2 separate regions of the Homo sapiens genome follow, and region 2 is linked to region 1. Evidence: promoter capture Hi-C in human tissues and cell types (Jung and others, 2019). All regions are on one chromosome and are shown on one strand. Each heading gives the region's core, a stretch centred on a gene start or on the middle of the fragment in contact. The rest is flanking DNA. Distances are from core to core; before and after follow the strand shown.

Region 1 (6,483 bases), core at 1,077-3,576:
TGCAAAATCCCATGCCCTGATGCTGGAGTCCTGGAGGGAGAGCAGGGCCCGGGACCTCCCAAGAGTATATTTCAAGAGTTGAGAGAGTGGTTAGGCTGAGAAGGGAAGTGGGGCAGGGACTGGCAGGAGAGGGGGTAATGTCTTCCTTTTGCTTGCCCCCATCTCCAGTCCCCCTTCTCTCCACCCAGGAATTAAAGCCGTGAAACCTGATACTTGGACTAGAAGGGCCTGCTGGGTACACTTTACCACCTAAACAGCAAAGTTCCAAGGGGTGGAACTTTTTAGAAAAATCTCCAATACCCCACTGGCCTGAAGGAGAGAGAGAAAGAGGTTGGGGAGAGAGAGAGAACATGCTGTGGTCTCTGCATGCTGCCCGTCTCTGCTGAGGTCCCTGCTGAGCTCTCCAGCACAGGCACAACCTTGACCATGTGCCTGCATCCAGGGGATGACCGTCAGATGTGGGTCTTGGCACAGGCGTGCCTGTATGTGTTTCCTGGCAGTAGTTAAGTATCCAAATATCTATTTGTCTTGGGAGTCATCTGCCTATTTGTGTTTTTAGTTGTGTGCGCCTGTGTGTTTGCTTTTTTTAGGCATACATCTTTGGTATGTGGGTGTCTCTGGAGTCGGGTGCCTATTTGTAGGTGTGATGTTTATGGGAGGTGAAACATTGCACCTGTTGTCTTTGTTGTATGTTTTCGTGTGTGTACCTTTGCAGGTGTGTATGGGTGGGTAGTTGTGTGTGTGCATGTGTATTTGCAAGGTGGAGTTGGTTTGGGTGTGCTGAGCTGTTGACTGTCTCATCCACTGCCCTTGCTAGGGCTGTCAGAGGCCAAGCTAAGCAACCTACCTTTGCCCACAGCAGCCTTTCTCAATTGATGGAAGTTCTTCCCCCAGGGAGTCCCAGTCCACCTGTTGCCACCCTCCTGATGCTGGGTGCCCAGTCAGAGAGGGTTAGGGAGATGTGCTGATGGCATGCACGACCTCCCCTAGATACTCCAAGACCCCGGCTTGTGAGGGGAGTGTGTGTGGAGAGGGTACTAGTCCTGCCTTCACCTCACCTCTGGGGAAACAGCTAGGACAGTCCCCTTCGCACAGCCCAATCCAGCCCCAGGGAAGGTGTTCAAGTGAGGCTCCCCCGTTTAGAGGGTTTCTTTCCAATCCCATCTCCCCCATCCCCTTTGCTCAGTCACTCAGTCACTCCAAGCAGTGTGATCTCCGGCAGGTGGCTTTACACCTCTGTGCCTCAGGTCCTTCATCTGTAAAATGGGATGTAAATGGTGCTTACTTCAGAGGGTTGTGAGAATTAACTGACATGATGCATACAGAGTGCTTAGCCCTGTGCCTGGCACAGGGAAGGTCTTTGCCTATGTTAGCTGATCCGCTCGTTCTGATCTCTCTGGGTTTCAATCCCAAGACACTGCCCATCCTTCAAACCTCACCTGTCCCCACGTGCTCCTTGGACCACCTTTGGGTGGTCAGGACTTTCCCCCTGGAATCAGACTGGCTGGGAGGGGAGAATCTTGGAAAGAGATTATTGACACTTGCACTGCAATTTCCACACAAGTTTTAAAATTTAATTCTATACCCCCTTATGAAATAGTTATCCTTTTCCTCCATTTTACAGATGATGATGAAGGGAGCAATAGAATTGTTAAGTAACTTGTTCAAGGTCACACAGTAAATAAGGGGCAGAGTCCAAGTTTACACTGAGCCAAAAATGGCTGTCCCACTGTCAGGTAGGAGGCTAGTTTACAACAACGCAGGATCAGAGTGCTGGAGGGGTTTCCAGGGGTCTGGTTAACAGTTCTGCCGGAGATCATACAGACAAGCAGAGCCAGCCAGGATGATCCTAATCTATACCCAGCTTCATATCGCTGTAAGCCCCCGCGTAACCAGGACTTGGGTGTTCTCATTTTGGGAGCCTTTTTTTTGGAAAGACCCCCACATGTGGAAGGCAGAGCGCATACTACAGACAGGGGAGCCAAAAGTGAGAGTCCTATGTTTAATCAGAGGAGAAAGCTGACATGGCCAAGCCAAATGAAGGCGCAAAGCCAGATTTCCTTAATTTGGGGGAGCGAAAATTGGGCCGCCTCCACGTCCAGCCATTCTCCAGCGGCCGGGTTTTTCAAAACGCTGCGCCCAGCGTCTCGCGAGGACCCTCCCCCCGGGTCCCCCAGCTCTGCCGCGGCCGCGCCCAGATGGCCGTCGGATCCCCCCTCAAGGTCCCCCTGTCGGCTCCGCCCTCGGTCGCCCAGGCCCCGCCCCGGCCGCGCGCGGTCCCCTCGGTTGGCGAACTCACTCCGGCGAGCGAGCGGCGGCGCTCGGCATTGTGGCAGGCGGCTGGGGCCGGCTAGGGCGCCGGAGCCGCACGCAGCCGCGGGGCTCCGAGAGGCGCGCACTGGGGCTGGGACTGCGCGGCGCCGCCGCTGCGAGCGCCACTGAGCGGTCGCGCAACTTCGGAGGCACAGCGCCGGAGCCAGGCGAGCGCTCAGAGACCCGGAGCCAGAGGGGCGCGCCGGAGCCTCGTTCGAGAGCCGGCGCCAGGCACCCACCGCGCTCCGAGTGCCAGGCGGCCCTCCGCGCAGCGTGGCTTCCGCTGCCCCCACGGAAGGCACGGGCTGGCGCTGCCGGGCGCCGGGGAGGACGGCGAGGAGGAGGCGGCGGCGGCGGAGACGGCGGCGGCGAGACTGGGGCCAGGGAGACAGCCCTGGGGGAGAGGCGCCCGAACCAGGCCGCGGGAGCATGGGGGCCCGGAGCGGAGCTCGGGGCGCGCTGCTGCTGGCACTGCTGCTCTGCTGGGACCCGAGGCTGAGCCAAGCAGGTAGGAAGCGATCGGGTCTGGGGGCGCGGGGCTAGGGGACCCTTGCGCCTCACTCTGTCCTGAAGTTGAGGTGGTCTTTCGTCGCATCGATGCGCGCAGGAAAAGCGGCAAGGGCGCCCAAGTTAGAATGTAGATTTTACTGCCTCCCAAAGTGGGCAATGGCGCATCCACATCGCGGGAGCGGGGAGCAGGGAAGGGGCTTCACAGTAAGCTGAAAGGTCCCTGCTCGCTCCTGAAAGGGATCCCTTCTTCTCCCTGGAAGGGGTGTAGGAGTCAGGGTCTGAGTCTCCGGGAGGATCCGCCTCCTGGGGACGCCCGGCTCTCCGCGCGCCTGGCATCCGCCCCGAAAAAGAACATTGGCTACATAAGCAAGGTGTGCGCTCGCTGCCGTACGCCGGTAACTTACTAGTCTGGTCCCGGCTCGCCTAGGCTCTTACGCGCTATAGGGACAGCAATCTGCAGACTAGAGGGAGAGAGCGAAAAGACCTGCTGAACACAGGAAGCGCTTCGGTAGCCTCGGCAGGCCGGCTTGCAGGGCTCCTGAAGCGGGGAGGGCTAAGTCTTGCACACATAGCTTTCCCCGAGATCGCTGGGCCCGCAGGTCTGGAAGAATTATTATTATTATTATTATTATTATTATTATTAATTTTCTGAGTGTTGGAGAGTGTGTGTGTGTGTGTGTGTGTGTGTGTGTGTGTTGGATGCGGGTAGGGGTTCTTAGCGATCCTGCGGAGTTTCCTTTTAAATTGGTCACTGACATTCTCGCTGTCCGGGGAACAGACTAGGTGCGCTCTCCTTGGTACAGCGCCCGCTCTGGACCCACCAAGATGACTTCAGCGAACTGGTGGGCTCCGAAATAAAGTCCCTAACCCTCCTCTCTCGCCGTGGATGAATACGTTTCTCGCTCGTCCTGTAGCTGGACCCGGCGTCGCTGGCTGGGCTGCGTCTTCTCGGGGAGGCTGTGGACTGAATGGAGCCAGCCTCTCTCTGGTACCCGAACCCAAGCAAGTGGGCTGGCCACGGCTGCCGGGCGGCTCGGCTCCGGAGCCAGGTGGGGACGGGGCCTCCTGCACGGAGTCCTCTCTGAGTTGAGGCTGAGAATGGAGCAGGAAAACTGGAGCAGAAAGTGGACGAGATGACGCAGCCCTCCCCACCTCCTACCTCCTGCTGCGAAGTTGACATCCGCCCTTCCCCCCTCCATAGCCAAAGATTCCTCATTCTGGAATTAGTGATTCCCACGGCCAGGAGTGAGGGCTTGGCTTTAGCACATTCCCCACTTTTTTTTTTTTTTCTGGTGCAAGTCCTGTGCAGTAGAGTTACAACACTCAACCATTTGATCCAAGTTAATTATGATTTGGGCAGACTCTGGTATTTAAAGCAGTGTTTTGAAGTTGGAAGGTAATGATGGGGATGGGGAAGGCAGGCTGCTGAATGTCCAACCTTGTTTTAAAGGGTGCAGTTAGACGTGGGAGGTGCTTGGTTGGGGTGCTGGTTTCTGGTTGGAGGGGGTTTGAGGAGATGATTGAAGGGTAGGGTGAAGTCTCTGTAAATGGCACATGGGCAGGGTTGTGTCTTGGGAAGCTGCTTTTGTACCAGCAGGACAGTGGGATCAGGAATAAATACTTAGGTTACCAGGAATGAGGGGCTGCTGTAGGAGAAAGACAAGACTGGTTGGCCTATAGTTCTCTGGGTGGGTGGGCTTGGCCAAGAAGGCTGGGGGTGGCCTGCATTTCCTGCTTAACAAAGCATCCAGCCCCCACCTTCCCCAGAAGAAACCCCAGGCCCAGGGCTTTGATGGATTTGGGCACGAATGGTGCCCAGTCAGAAATGGCCTCTAATACCCGGCTTTGATTTCTCACCAGCGAGCAGAAGCGGTGTTGGAATTGTGCTCATTACTTAGTGCGGCAGTAGCTGCCTGCCCACCAGCCTGGAGAGGGGCCAACTGGTGGGGTCGGCCTGCAGCCTTCTCATTGCCCAGAATGTGTGGCCCTTAGAAACCTGCCTTCAGGAGGGAGAACATGTCCCTTCCTCCCACACAATCTTGTTTTTCTCTAATGCCACAGGCACAGAGCATCATTCTTTCAGAATGTTCTTTGGGTTTTTCCATTGGATCCTTCACAAGCTCCATTTCACTGATGGGGAAAATCAAGGCCAGAGTGTTGGCTTTCTCCAAATCTTGCCTTCACTTGGCCACAGATTGAAGACATGTGAAGGGCTCCTGTCCAATAGCCAGACTGATTCAAGCCCAGCAGACCCTCCCTCCTATTCTTATCCACCCACCCCTCTGCCATGAGACTCATAACAGACTGAGGCAGGCGAGGCTCTCTCTGCAAAGAGGGATCTTTACTGGGGGTGTCCAAGCTCCCCTCAAGTGGCAGGCACCTCTCTCTCCTTTTCCCCACCCCACCCCATCCCTGGTGAATATGGGAATGAGCTCCCTTTACAGCACTGAGAATATTTTTAAGCTGTAAAGTCTGATGCTGGAGAAATCAAAACTGGAACCATAAAACCCCAGACCCTTAGAAGGTAATGTCAGCAAGTGACTAGCCAGAAAAGGCCACTTCAAAAGCTCTGGTTGGCCCTGGAAATCTCCTCCCACCCCACCTTTCAGCCCTTCCTGGAGCTTTTAATGAGCCTTTCCATGGCCTCTGGCTGGGATGGTTGAGAAGGAGTCGAGGTGTCAAGATAATACTTCTTTTTAAGGTGCAATTAAAATCAGAGTTTTTGTAGTGTCTCTGCTTGGTGTGTGTGTGTGTGTGTGTGTGTGTGTGTGTGTGTGCTCGCGTGCATGCGCCTGTGCACACACAATGATAGCCTGTCCTTGTCTCCCTCTGCACTCACTGTAGCAAACACCCATCTCACTTAAACAAATGGAAAATCAAGTGTCTTAATGGGTTTTCTCATTAAAGTGAAAGTACCACTGCAGGGGAGGAATTTCTCCTGTAATCTCTCTCCTCCACCTCTCTCCCCTCCCCCACAAACAGGGAATTCTGTAGGATAAAACAGTTCCCCTCTTTTCCAATCCATTTATTTAACTGTTGACACTTTGGGACAGGCCAACTTGCCCAAGGTCACACTGGGACTCACCGGTAGCGCCAGGACTTGAACTGAGGCCTCACAACCTCAATCTAGTGCTTCTAGCTCCTTCATTCCATCTGGGCTGGAGACCCACCATCATGGGTGTGGGCTTGAGACTCTGAAATTGAGGCACCACTTAAGGCAGGCAGCTAAAGATAAGATCGCTTTGATGGCTGCTTTAGACTGGAACTCATGGCAGGATGGAGGAAAGAGGTTGAGAGTTGGAAGGGTGAAGAGGTGTTCCAGGAGAGGGGGAACAGGGCAGAGCCAAAGGTCAGGAGTGAAGCTCTGAGACCAGGCAAGTGCCCAAAGGTGGCTCCCCCAACCCCCAGCATTGGCCTCCTGAGCAACTGCCCTGACCTGGGGAAGGGAGACAGGTCACAAGCCAAGCTCCCTTGGGCTGCATGGCCAAATAAACATTAGCATTTTATAGCTCTGCACCCATTTGTAGAGTTGGGGACAGAATATGTTTTTACTTTTTACTTATATTCAAAGCTTTAGGAGCCAGTGCCCTCCCCCACCTTTGTTGTTGAGTTTCTCCTGGACCGCAGGTCTAGTGACCCTTTTCCTGGGTGTCAGGCTTA
Region 2 (6,483 bases), core at 1,461-3,960, 430 kb before region 1:
TGCTGGAGACAAGCCAGCTTGGGTCCTCTCTCCTCTACCCCACACCCCTCCCCTTCCTGAGGACGCTATGCATCTGCCCTTGGAGGAAGGTCAAGATCAGCAAAGGTGGGCCAGTCCCCACTGGAGGCCTGCTGGGACCACCTGCCTGATCGCTGTCTGCATGCCCTTCTCACGGTGGCCCTGGCTGAAGGGAGTCCTTTTGGAGTACAGATGGACTCTGGATGTGCTAAGCAAGGCGTGCCGCCCCCGGACCCTCTGAGGACTCCACTGACTTGGCCCCTGAGTTTCCTGTTCCATTCTCCATTCGCCTCTAAGGGATCTGGGGCTTAAAGAAATAAAGCAAACCTTCTCTGAAAGTTGCAGTTAGCTGTCCTCTTCTACCCCCAAGTAACAGAGGAAGTCACCTCCTGAGAACCCCTGGAACTCCTTTGCTCAGTGCTTCTGGCACCCGCTCAAGTCTTTTCCCTGCCCAGGAGGGGCAAAGCCCACTACCTGGGCTAACTTGAGCCTGAGGACCCATTGGGGGGTCTGGCTGACCGGCAGCAGAAGTCCAGTAAGAACCACCTCTCTTGGACTCCTAATCTGTTGAGATCCCCCAAGGCCACCTTTGTCTTCTACCCTGCCCTACCCCAAGCCCTCCTCAGTCAGCAGGGTGGGCATTTGGAGCCTCACCTCATCAGTGGATAATCAGCCAATTGAACATCTGTAGCCATTGTATGCTTTTTAACAGACTAAAGGCCAGTGCACTTAATACTAGCGTTGAGGATGCAGAACAGGAACTCTCACTTAATACTAGTGTTGAGGATGCAGAACAGGAACTCTCACGAACTGGTGGTGGAAGTGTAAACGGGAACAGGCACTTTAGGGGGAGAAATGGTAATATCTTTTAAAATTGAGCATTTGCATGCTGTATCACCCAGCAATTTCTTTCCCAGATATAAGAGAAATTCTTATAGATGTACAACAGGGGCTACTTATAAGAATATTCATACAAACACTGTTCAAAATAGCAAAAACCTGGTGGCAACCCAAATGTCTGATGGCAGAAGAATGGATAAATAAGCTGTGGTGCATTCAGACAATGGGATACTTTATTGCTATGAAAATAAATGAGCCACAGCTACATGTAACAACATGGATGAATCTTATAATCAGTATGAGAAAACTTAACAATTCTTGGTTTTGCGATGTTATATTTATGCAATCTTATTAACTCAATTTACTTTTTATTAATTACTATTAAATAGGCTGCAGTAGAACAAGATATATGCATTTGAAACAATACAATTGTTGTCATCCACTATATATAATGTGTGGATAATATAAAATAACTACTAAACAGTATAAATGTTGTTTAAAAACATATTATTTTTCTTTCATAAATGGTTTAGTTTATGTGTGTTCCAGAGGACCACAAGTTCCAGAGGACCACATAGCCTGAGATCCTTTCTAAAAATAAAAGTTTAAAAGCAAGCAAAATGATCATGAACATGCGATAAAACAGCAACAACAGCATCAAACAAGGAAATGCTAAGCACGAAATTCACATAGTGGCTATTTCCGAGGGAAGGCGGGGAGGGGAAGTGTGCAGGAGAAGCGCATATAAGGAGATGTGTTAGTGATGATGTTCTTGTTCTTGGTTTGGGTGGTGTATTTGCTTGTGTTTATTATATTATTAAATAAACTAATTAAATGGCATAGATGAAAGATGATAGGTGTCAAAACCAAGAATTATGATTAAATCTATGGACCTGAATATATATATCTAGCCAAAGTGCTAGGGATGGGGTTGGGACAGGACATCAGTGCATTCTGAGAATTAACCCTCAGAGTCACAGAATCTGCAAGGGACCCCAGAGATCTCCCAATGCCAGCCTTCATCAGGTAGTGGGATGGGTTGGAGTTGTCTGAGATCAGGGAAGCAGGGGAGATTTGCTGAGGTCACACAGAAGGAACCAGAGCCCGGGCAGTCTGACTCACAGTTTGCTGATCTTTTCTTTCCTTAAAAGGAAGCTCCAGACATCCTTGATGTCAGGTACTGGGCTCTAGAGTACTGAGATGCTACAATCTTGAGAACAGGATATGTGGAAGCCCCAAATCCTCCTGCCTATGGGAAAAAGTACTCTTTAGAACAGAGACTTGCAAATGTGTTTGGCTGTGATGACGGTAAGAAATTCTTTATGTCATGATCCAATTCACATATGGGTTTGTGTGTGTGTGTGAAACTAAAACAATAATATCCTGAAGCAATATTTATCCGTACTACATATGATGCACACTGATATTTTTACCCTATTTTTGGTTTTTATTTCTTAAATGTTAGATATGATCCATTTAAATTGATCTAATAAGCCACCAGGGGGTCATAACCCACAGCGGCTGTAGAGAGGCTGACAGGGACTCTAGTAGGCCAAGCCTGCCTTGTCCAGAGCGGGACAGGTGGGACCCCAGTGTAGTCTGCCCTGCCCTGCCCCTGCTCTCTGTCCCTGGGGCCCCAGCCAGCCAGGCAGAGGGGTCTGAGGGCTCCCATCAATCCAGCCACAAAACTTCCCTTTCTACCTCTGCCCTTCTGGGCTGTCCAGGGTCCATCTCCTCTCCCGAGAGGTCCCTGGACTCACCAAGGCAGTGCCCGCTACAGCATGTGTACGAGAAGCCCTGCTGTCCTAGCAGGAAGGAGCAAGAGGACAAATCGAGGGGAAGGCTGTGGGTTCTGTGGGCAAGTCTGCCTGCTTTGTGACACTGAGCCCAGTGGTTGCTAGGTTACCCTGTTCCCACAACTCCAGAACCTCTGCCCAGCACCCCTCTACCACATCCCCTGCCTATCTCCCCCTCCTGGAAGGGTAGACAAGGGCTAAGGACCTTCTGTCCCTCCTGACTTCCCTGCTGCCTCCCATCCAACACTTTCAATGGGGGCCAAGGGAGAGAAGGAGAGTCTGGGGCTGGTTTTAGCCAGAGAGAAGCGGATGGAGGCGGAACGCTGGCAGAGGACGTTGGTGGGCTGCGTCCCAGCTTCGTCAGCCCCACCTGGCCTGACCCCACCACACAGGGGTCGGCTTCCATGCATCTTGGTTCTGGGGACCCATTCTCAGGGAGGTGGGTCTTGGAAGGAGAGAAGATGGCAGCCCGCATTACCCAGAGGGACCCCAGCCCCTCTCTCTGCATGACAGCTGGGTGGGAAGATTCTGGGCTTGCATTTGGACAGGTGTTTTAATCAGATTTCAACATCCCATAGACACGTTACCTTGGGTAAGTCACCGGGACTGCCACAGATGCAAAATAGTGGGAAGAATCCTTGCTTCGAGTCCCTATTCTGCTACTTCCTAGTTGTGTGGCCTCAGACAATGCACCTGCCTTCTCTGAGCCTTAGTTCCCATATCTCTAAAATGGAGATGATGATACTGCACTTATTCTCACAGGATGTTTGAGAATATTAAGTGAGTTGATATATATTAAAGCGTTTCAAACAGTATCTGCCCCCAAGTATAATTTCTTACTATTATTGCCTTCTCTGGGTCTATAAAATGGGATATCCTCACCTACTTCTGTGGTTGTTCTGAAGACAAGCTAATGGAAGTGAAGCCTTTAGTTGTATGTCTGGCACACAAGAGATGCTCAAAAAGGATAATAATCATCATTATTATTGGTAACTTGATGGAGGTAGTAGGATGAGTCCTTTGTCTGAGAACTATCTTAGGTAGTTCACTATTTCTCTGAGGCTCAACTTGGACACCTGTCAAATGGGGGTAAGGATAGTTCTTAGCCGACAGGGCTGTAACTCAATCAGATCCCGGGAGGGGTGCAGACAGGCTCTGTAAACTATGGGAAGGCTTGCAGACAGTGCCGGGTGCTGTCCCTCAGAATGATGAGGTGGGCTTTTCCCAGGGCCTTTGCTCTCAGCACCCCTGGCTTCATACTGGTGCCCTGGGGCTTCCAGACTCTGTGTCTTTTCTCTGGGGAGCAAGAAAAGGAAGGTGGGTAGCTAGAGGCAAACCCAAGTCCTTCAAAAGTTCTGCCCCTCCCAGCTAAGGGGTGGGGATTCATACCACTCTGGTGGCCCCCTGAGGGCTGTCCTCTGGTCTTGGCCTACTCCAAATGCCCACCCATCCTTCGGCAGGTCAGGATGTTCCCTGGCTTTTTCTGGGCCTGTCTCTGCAGGAATACGGTGACTCTTTTGAAATCATACTGAAAACCCCCTCTTCCATACTTCTGGGCATCCTGGCAGCTGTGAAGATAGATGATATAGCATTTGGGAGAAGAGAGGCTTTCTTCCCCGTGACAAGCCACTCCTCCCTCCTGCTTTCAGCACTCTTGTGGCATTTCCCACCACGCGAGCTGACTCAGCTGAGATGAAAACCCACTCTCATCCTCCCCACTGGTGCCTTGTAATGCTTCAACTATGTTATTTACAATCGAGCATGGGGGTCTGCATAGGGACTGCAGCTGGGGGGATGAAGGGGTTCCTCAGGAAATGTCTTCAACACTGGTTTGTAAAAGAAGAACTGAGGAAACTCTTCTGACTCCTTTGTGGAGTGTCAAAAACTGTAGAGAGATCTGTCAGCCTGAGAGTGATTTGAGGTACAGTCCTTGGCCTGGATGACTCAGTCATAACAGAGGCAATAGAAACTTCATGGAACACTTTCTATGTGCCAGGCACTGTGCCAACCTCTTAGATATATTACCTCATGTAATCCTATAGATGGAGAAATTAATGATCAGATAAATCTTTAGTTATTTGTGTTGCAAATATATTCTCTCCTTTGTGTCTTGCTTGTCTGTGTCTATATGCAGTCTTTTGATAAAGAGAATTCCTAATTTTAACATAACCCAGTTTATCAATTTTGTCCTTAATGGTTAGTGGGTTTTGTGTTTTAAGAGATTTTTGCCTACCCAAGGTTATGAAGATAATTCTCATTATTATTTTCTGAAGATTTACTGTTTTGCTGTTCATGTTTAGATCTACAATCAATACGGAATTGATTTTTGTGTTTGGTGTAAGATAGGGGTCAAAATTTATATATATTTTTTCCATATAAATATCCATTCGACCCAGTACCATTACTTAAAACATTGTCCTTATCTCTGCAGTACCATCTTTAACAAAATTCAAGTATCCGTATATGTGTGGGTCTGTCTCTGGACTTTCTGTCTACCAATGCACCAACACTATATTCTCTTAATTACTGTAACTTTAAATACATCTTGATGTCTATATAAGTGGTATAAGACTTCCAGCTTTGTTTTTTTAAGAGTGTCTTGGATATTCTAGTTCCTTTGCCTTTCCATACAAATTTTAGAATAATCTTATTGATATCTACAAACATTTTTGTTTAGATTTTTATAGGAATCAGGTTAAACTTCTGTATCAATTTGGGGAGAATGGACATCTTTACCATGTTGAGTCTTCCAGTCCATGAACATAGTATATCTCTCCATTTATTTAAATATTCTTTGATTACTTTAATCAGCATTTTATAGTTTTCAGCATAAAAGCCGTGGACATGTTTTGTTAGATTTTCACCTATTTCAGTTTTTGTTTTTAAAGGAACTGTAAATGGTATGGTATTTTAAATTTTGGTGTCCATATATGCATTGCTAGTATATAGAAACACTATTAATTTGGTATGTTAGTTTGTATCCTGCAACCTTGCTGAACTCACTTATTAGTTTCTGGAGATATGTTGTAGATTCCCTGGAATTTTCTACATAGGTAATAATATCATCTGCAAATAGGGACAGTTTTCTTTCTTTCTTTCTTTCCCATATATATGCTTTTTCTTCTCTTCTCTTCTCTTCTCTTGTCTTACTGCACTGCCTAGAATTTCCAATACTAAGTTGAATAACAGTGGTGAGAGTGCACATCCTTACCTTGTTCCTAATCTTAGGAAGTAAACACAGAGTCTTTAACCATTAAATATAATGTCAGCTGTAGGTTTTTTATATATACTCTTTATCAGGTTAAAGAAGTCCCTCTCTCTTCCTATTTTTCTGAGCATTTTTGTCATAAATGTGTGTTGAATTTTATCAAATGCTTTTTTTCTGCATCAACTAATATGATCTTGTGATTTTTCTTCTTTTGCTGGTCAGTACATTGATTTTTCAAATATTGAACTAGCTTTTTATCCCTGGAATAAGCCCCACTTGGTCATGGTGTACAATTCTTTTTATATATTGCTGGATTCTACTTGAAAATATTTTGTTAAGGATTATTGCACCTATATTTATGATGAATATTTATCTGTAGTTTCCTTTTTGTAGTATCTTCCTCTGGTTTGGGTATCATCAGGGTAATACTAATTTCATAAAATGAATTGGGAAGTGTTACCTCCTTTTCTATTTTCTGGAAGAGATCGTGTAAAATTGATGTTAATTCTTCTTTAAATGTTTGCTGGATTTCTCCAGTGAAACTACCTGGGCCTGGAGATTTATTTTTTGGGGTGTTTTAAAATTGAAAATTCAATTTTCTTAACAGTTATGGGACTATTC

The links. The method cuts DNA at HindIII sites, captures the fragments that hold promoters and counts their contacts. A contact is called where the count stands out against the background at its distance.
Region 2: the fragment with the promoter of TBATA here is called in contact with the fragment with the promoter of UNC5B in region 1 in 1 of the 25 tissues and cell types used here (mesenchymal stem cells).

What each region holds. Positions count from the first base shown.
Region 1 is chr10:71,210,244-71,216,726 of GRCh38, forward strand. It overlaps UNC5B (unc-5 netrin receptor B), which reads left to right and starts at 2,327. Exons shown (of 17, transcript NM_170744.5): 1 at 2,327-2,821. The coding sequence starts at 2,743. RefSeq lists enhancers at 2,089-2,383, 5,354-5,973 and a silencer at 2,228-2,487. The HindIII fragment of the contact is 13,648 bases long and covers 1-6,483 here.
Region 2 is chr10:70,782,667-70,789,149 of GRCh38, forward strand. TBATA (thymus, brain and testes associated) reads right to left here and starts at 2,711. Exons shown (of 11, transcript NM_001318241.2): 1 at 2,619-2,711; 2 at 1,981-2,107; 3 at 673-859. The coding sequence starts at 713. The HindIII fragment of the contact is 18,774 bases long and covers 1-6,483 here.